Regions from separate parts of the Homo sapiens genome. Here region 1 is linked to region 2. Evidence: promoter capture Hi-C in 16 types of primary human blood cells and fetal thymus (Javierre and others, 2016). All regions are on one chromosome and are shown on one strand. The core of a region is centred on a gene start or on the middle of the fragment in contact, and the rest is flanking DNA. Distances in the headings are between cores, read along the strand shown. Region 1 overlaps QTMAN (queuosine-tRNA mannosyltransferase). Region 2 holds the start of QTMAN-AS1 (QTMAN antisense RNA 1).

Region 1 (3,162 bases), core at 173-2,672, 210 kb after region 2:
TGCCCAACTGTAGGCTAATGTAAGTATTCTGAATATGTTGAAGGTAGGTTAGGCTAAGCTATGATGTCTGATAGGTTAGTTGTATTAAATGCATTTCAACTTATCATATTCTCAACTCACAATAATGGGTTTACCAGGCTGTAATCCTATCGTAAGTTGAGGAACATCTGTATACAAGATTAAAGGGATAAAGCAATTGGTTTTATTCCACCCTAAAAATGATAGATCAATACTACTGGAAAGAAGACATGTTATGTCCACAGGACTGCAGAACACCACAGAATAAGTAGAGCTTATAGAATAGGAATGCCGTAGCCAAACGTCAGTTTAGTTTAAGTCATATTTGCTGAGACAGCCAAATTTACTATTACAATGTTAATATCTAGCAGAATAAAAAATGAACAAAAAGAGTGTTGGCCTGCTACTTCCGTGCATCCCTTGAAAAAAACTGATTTTCTATACAAGTATTGTTTATTAGTTGCTACCTAGTGCAAATTTGGGGGGTGTGGGTGATTACAACACGAACAATACAAAGGAATGTCACAGAAGTGCTGACACAACACTAAGCAATAAGGAAGCTAATATAATAATATACCAAAAGTTGAAGGATGTTTTACAGCTAGTCTTGTTTTCACCATATGTCACATATTGTAATAGTGACCTACAGGTCATAATATATAGTTGTGACATGTGTTCATAAGTCAGAGGGTTAGTGAAATCACTGTTTAAGGTGAGTGCTTATGTCAGTCATCTTTAAAGTCCTTAACTGCCACACAGTCCAGAAAGAAATCTGACAGTGCCAAAAAAAGCAGAAGTCAGCAAGAAAACTAAAGAAACATTTGAGGAAGCAGGAGTCATACTTTTCAAAGAGAATCTGAACAGGACTGCCTTTTGACACTCTTATTTTTCCTCTGGACAACTGTGAACCATTTTTTCCCCATTAAGAAGCCAACTGATGATGAAGTACACTTCTCTCTCTCCAAGCTTGTCTATAAGTTTACCCTCTTGAGAAAAGCAATGCTGAAAAATCATGTACAAAACTTTTATAGTCTCATTCCCTATCAGCAAAAACAATGTTTTATGAAAGTGAGGAGGAATCGAGAGCTGAATTGTTTTTAGATAGCTTCCCTCAAACGGCATGTGACCCAATGACTTACATTCTTAAAAATCCAGTCTATGCTAAATTAAAGATCCAAGATAGTTTACAGAAATATCCTTTTTGGTACATTTCCTCCCTGATATGAGTGGATGTAACTTCCATTAACTTTAAAGCCACCCATAAAGGAAAAAATAGACTTAGTTTTTTTCCCAATGATTTCTCAGGGGTAATAAACACACTATCTGAGGAAAAGAATGATGCTAATTCAAGAAATCAAAAGAATATTACAAATGTTTTCCATATTGATAAAGCACAAAATGATTTTATTTTCATTTTTAAAACATATTTTCCTTCTCTGTTTCAATATAAAGTATTTTAATTTTATTATGAAATTTTAAAACGGCTGCTTTTTTTATGAGACATTTGACGTGAAGCAGTTGCACTCTATTTTGATAGCACTGCTACTTCACAATTGAAGCAGCTTGTAAAAATGATTGTAGGAAAACATTCACAAAATGCACACAACACAGAATTATTACTATATAGCCATTTTTCTATGTCAACTAAACTATGAAACATTCTTGCAAGAATTGCGGGTCTGTTCAAATACATCATCAAACCCAGTTGCTAATAGCTGTTAATAAAGATAAATAAAATGTACAAAATCACTGACAAACAGATTCCGTTTGACTGTTGCAGTTATGTGAATAGGATCCAATAGCAAAGCCATTTCAGAATTGTTATTAACTTCTTTCATTAACTAAGCTTCAGGAGATACACTTTGTCGAAGTAACAATAGAGGACCATCACCTTTAAAATGTCATGGTATTTTAAGGCTGTGCCATTTCAGAAGACTCAACGAAGGAAAAAAGAAAACACTACCTAAGGATTCATTGTCCATAGTCTTCTCTGTCTTACAATTTAAAAAAAAAAAAAAAAAAAAGGCGGGGGAGACAAAACCCCAAGTTGCTCCATTATGCTTTAATTTTTACTTCTCTGTAAAACTCTATTTTGATTTTAGCTGAATACAGTGATCGTGATTAATAAGTAAGAGTTGACTAACTGCACTTTCTAAATGCCTTAAGCAATAGATCATGAAATCAAGGGGTGAAGGTCCCTGCCAACCTTTTAATTCTATTTTGAATGTTGTGAAAAATAGATAATTAGCTCAACATATAATTAGATTGTTACATATATGTATTTTTATAAAATGATTAGTTGTGATCTTACATATACTGCAGAAGGAAGAATTGTTTAAATATTTGCACCTACCTTATGGTGTTTTAAAAAAAGGTGTACAATAGTAGGTCTCCAGATTTAAAACGTAACCACCTACAAAGAAAAAGGTAGCAAAGGGCCAAATATAATGATACAATCCATACCTACCATGAAAGAATTTGGTTGTATCCATATTGGAAATCCCTCTCCTGACATTTCTTGACAGGATATATCAACTGGTTCTCGTGAAAATACAGAATCTTTTTCAGTTTCCCAAGGTCAGGCCGAAGGGCAGCCAGTTCGGTCAGGTTAAGCACTGAACTTGCAAAGAGGGTCCTAGGAAACAAGAAAATTGGGGTTTACTGTCCCAAGTATGTTTGAAGGGATCATGCTTTGCTCTTCTCTCCTCTTTCCTCTTCCCACCCCAAGAAAAACACATCCCCTATAGGGACACATCAATAGTTGAGGCTTAATACCATGTAGCAGCATTCTAAGTTTTGATCTCTTAAAAAGCAGCTGCTTAGAACTATAAAGTCCCCGAATCTCACTGGTCTTCTCAGTGCAGTTACTGAGAAATGTTAAAAAAAAAAAAAAAAAAAAAAAAAAAAAAAAAAAGCCGGATGGATTTTATTGAAAAAGGCAAGAAAAGCTCTATCTGAAGGACAAATGGAACAAAGATAAGACTGACTGCGGAATACTTTGCTTGCCAGTTTCATTACACTTTCCTTCTTTATGCAACCAACTACTGAAATTCAATGTATGAGCAGGAATGGCACATGTTCATGTTATGACATAAACTCTTTTGATTTATGCAATAGACTTATCTAGTATGGTCTTTTTCTCTT
Region 2 (3,561 bases), core at 11-2,510:
GGCACTTGGTTTCCAAACACTATTCTCAGATTCGCAAAGTTGCGCTGTGATGAATAAATAATGAATCAGATATTTCAATCCGTTTTATGATTTTTGAAAGCCCTGATTATCATTGTTTACAGTCTCTTCTTAATGCACTTCCCATGCGTTCTTGTTCAGCCTTCCAAGAGTTGGTTTATGTAGGCCACCCTCTCCCAACCTCGCTTTACTTTTGGACTGCTCTCACGTGTTAACCCACCCGCTCACACCTTTAAACCAGTTTGGGGAATATTTCAAATCTGAGGGGGGAAATCTTGAGCGACAGATGACAAGGAGTATTCGCAAACACTCCAGGCTAATGTTGCTTGTATTTGGTCACAGGTGTGCCCTGCTTTTGCGTACTATAATATCTCTATTGGTGAGAAAGAGGGAGAAAATTATGCTAAAACCACATGGATAGAAAGGAAAACGGCACTGCTGAAATCAGGAAGGATCAGCATTCCTTTTCTCCTATACATACGTGTGTATACTCAGATAAATAATGATAAATCACGGCAGTGTGAGGGAGGCTTTTAACAAAATACAAGCTTCAAAATAGGAATATCTTCACAAGTTTTCAAAAAGCTAATCAGAGCAAATGAGTGACAAATCAATGTAATGCTTCTAAATATTCTCCTGCCCCAATATTGCTTAACTCCTCTTCTCCACTCCTCCTAAATAACCAGTTGGTGGTGAGGAGGAGAAATGAGGTTTGTATTTCAATATACAGGTGTGAAGTGAAAAAGAAAGCGTCCGGGGGGTGAGATTTAAATCACATATCCGAACATACCAGAGACAGGAGTTATTCTAAACTGTGTAGATAAAATCCCTTTCGGAGAGTCCCCGTGCCCATCCCCACTCCCCTTCGCGGGATTGCTGAGGGCAAGTTATGTTTTTTGAAAAGGTAGTAGGCATCGGTGTTTCTGGTTTTGCTTAGTGCGTCTTCATCGTATTCCCTCGCTGAGGACTGAGCCTGGCCGACTCAGGGAACCGAGTTCAATGAAATCCTCAGACGCATAAAGCACAGGGTGCCGGCCCACCGAGCTGCGCTCCCTTCCCGGGGGTGCCCGAGAGAGAGCACGCGAGCCCGGCGCAGCCAAACCCGGGCAGGGGTGGGTCCCCACCGCGTGTGCGTGTGCCAGCCTGGGAGTGTCGGCGCGAGCGTGGCGGGTGCGTGCCGGTGTGTGTGCGTGACAGCGCGCGCGTGGCAGGGAGTTCGCGCGCCAGGGTGCGCGTGCCAGCGCGGGTGTGCGAGGGAGTGCGCGCGGGTGGGAGCGCCAGGGGCTGGCGGGGCCCGCGCCCTGGGACGAGCCCCTCGTGCTCCGGCTCTGCGCTCCCGCAGCGCCCACGCAGCCGAGAGGAGTGGGTGATGACTTCGTGACCTCAACGTCCTCCCCCGTCCCTCGACATGTTCCCGCGCCTGAAAGGTGCAGAAAACTCCCCCCACCGCTCTGGACGAGACTGAGCTAGGCGTCGAGGGCGGGCGCCGCCGCAGACCGGAGCTCGGGCTCGCTGGCCGCTCAGGCGCAGCGGTGTGGAGGGAACGGACGCGCGGCAAGGCGACCCGCTCTGGGCAACGCGGGCGCAGCTGCCCCGACGCAAGGCACTAGCTGGTCGGGGGCTCGGGCGAGCCGGGGCCGGCGTGCCGGGGCGTGCGCTCTCTCGGCAGGCGAGCGCCGGGCTCCGCGGAGGTCCCTGCGCCCACTGCCTGCTTCTCCGCCCGGCGACCCGGAGTCCCCAGGCTGCGGTGCGCCAGGCCAGACCTGACCGAGGGCGGAAGACCCGAGCGGCAGGGAGGCAGAAAGAAAAGAGGTAGCAAGCCCCAGACAAGGGATCCTTAATTACAGATAAAAGGCAAACAAAACCGTACACCACATTTTCCACGTGTCAGCTGACGGCCGCGACAAAAGGAAACAGAACGCTGGGGGGTGGGGGGGAGGCCCCTTCTTAGCTGCCCCCCACCCCTTGACAATGTGTGCAAATGTAAAATGCATTAGGTAGTAACTCTGGATAGGTGGTGCCCGGGGCCAAATTGCAGCTGCACGCTCCATCGTGTAGGACAGTTTGCTGATGCACCCAGAGGTCTGGGGAACCTCTTACAAAAAAGGGACTACAAATACTCCGCTTGAGCACATTTTGCTTCTTAAAACTTCATTACTCATACATTTTAAGTTAAAAATTTTGTGCTTAAAGTGTTGCAATTATCTTCAGTAAAATTCTAATACACACACACATACACACAATTTTGTTTTGCAGTTTTGTAGATTCCATTTTATTGGCCTGGTATCACAGCATTAGAAATACAAGGGGAAAAGCCAAGACGATGAAAGCCAGGGAACATAGCTGCAAGCACCAGAGAGCACAAGTTCCCCTCCATGGCTCTGCGGCTCAAATGGAAAAAGGAGAGATGTCTGCTTTGATTTCTTTCCTTTTAATTAATCAGGATCACAAAGCAATCTCCACCCTGTCCCTGGGATTTAAGATACTGGTTAAACTCCACCGTGTCCCGAATTCTCCACAGAAGGTGGAGGAGTGTTCAGAATCTGAAGTCCACCCGCGGACCATTAAAAACCTCTAGGTCTGTGCCCTCATTTTTAACACTCAAATTAAAGGATCACCCTGAGCCACCACGCAGTGCACTCTTCTCTATTTTCTCCCTCTTGTTGCTGGGCCGGTTTTGGAAATTAGAAGGGGTGGTCTCTTTGTTAGCAATCTGTTTACTTTCTTCTGATACAATGAAGCATCAGGTCGAAGGTGACAAGGCTTCTTTGCTTAGTCATTTTTACCCATCTCTTTGTAGATGATGTTTTTTTCCATTTTCAATTTTTTTTTTCATCAATGCCATCTCCCCAACAGCATTTCAAAAATAAAATTTCCAAGTCCTTTTTTTAAATGTGGTTCCAGTCAAATGATTTACCCACACCCCAAATAATATTATTTACATCCAGTATTAATAGCTGCATATCAGTAATTCTTAGAGATCTTCTGATCCATATTTAACAATTTAAATGATGGCTAACATTATTGCCAGGCAAATGCCTGAACCAATAGTTTGTGGACTAGTTGCCAGCCAGATGACAGCCAGGTATACACAGGGTAAGAACATAATTAAGTTTCTGCCCTAGTCTCTTCAATTGCAGAAGGCAGACAACACTCTTTCTCACCTTCCAGGGAAGTAGATTAGCAGATTAACAAAATGATGTAAATCACATAAGCTTTACATCCCCCTTCCCCTTCTAATACCTATTTAGGAACACTTTAAAATTTTTCCTTTAGGCATCTAGTCTTTCTGTGGTTTAGCCACATGCTCTCCCCTTTTTGGCTTTCTCCTTCTGTAAAATAAGTAAGGTGAAAGAGCAGATTAGGAGTTTTTCTTTTTCTTACAGCTTTCCTGTGTTTGAGTGGATCATCCTGTTGCCATCGTTTTAGTCCAGTTGTTGTTAATTCATGTTCTTACCACCCACCAAAGAATAGCACAGGATTAAGTTTATATTAATAAATGATGTTCATGAGTAGGTTTTTAAATGCCAGAGTTATGATTTA

What was found. The method cuts DNA at HindIII sites, captures the fragments that hold promoters and counts their contacts. A CHiCAGO score of 5 or more calls a contact.
Region 1: a contact is called between a fragment that was not itself captured here and the fragment with the promoter of QTMAN-AS1 in region 2, in 1 of 17 cell types (megakaryocytes). The highest score is 5.6, in megakaryocytes.

The regions. Positions count from the first base shown.
Region 1 is chr2:144,143,087-144,146,248 of GRCh38, forward strand. QTMAN (queuosine-tRNA mannosyltransferase) reads right to left here. Exons shown (of 12, transcript NM_001376312.2): 5 at 2,486-2,653. Among named protein-coding and RNA genes, the nearest start is that of QTMAN, 190 kb to the right of the region's middle. The HindIII fragment of the contact is 880 bases long and covers 983-1,862 here.
Region 2 is chr2:143,935,807-143,939,367 of GRCh38, forward strand. It overlaps QTMAN-AS1 (QTMAN antisense RNA 1), which reads left to right and starts at 1,261. Exons shown (of 3, transcript NR_110237.1): 1 at 1,261-1,830. It overlaps QTMAN (queuosine-tRNA mannosyltransferase), which reads right to left. Exons shown (of 12, transcript NM_001376312.2): 12 at 2,262-3,561. RefSeq lists an enhancer at 685-1,368 and a silencer at 1,563-1,762. The HindIII fragment of the contact is 2,667 bases long and covers 565-3,231 here.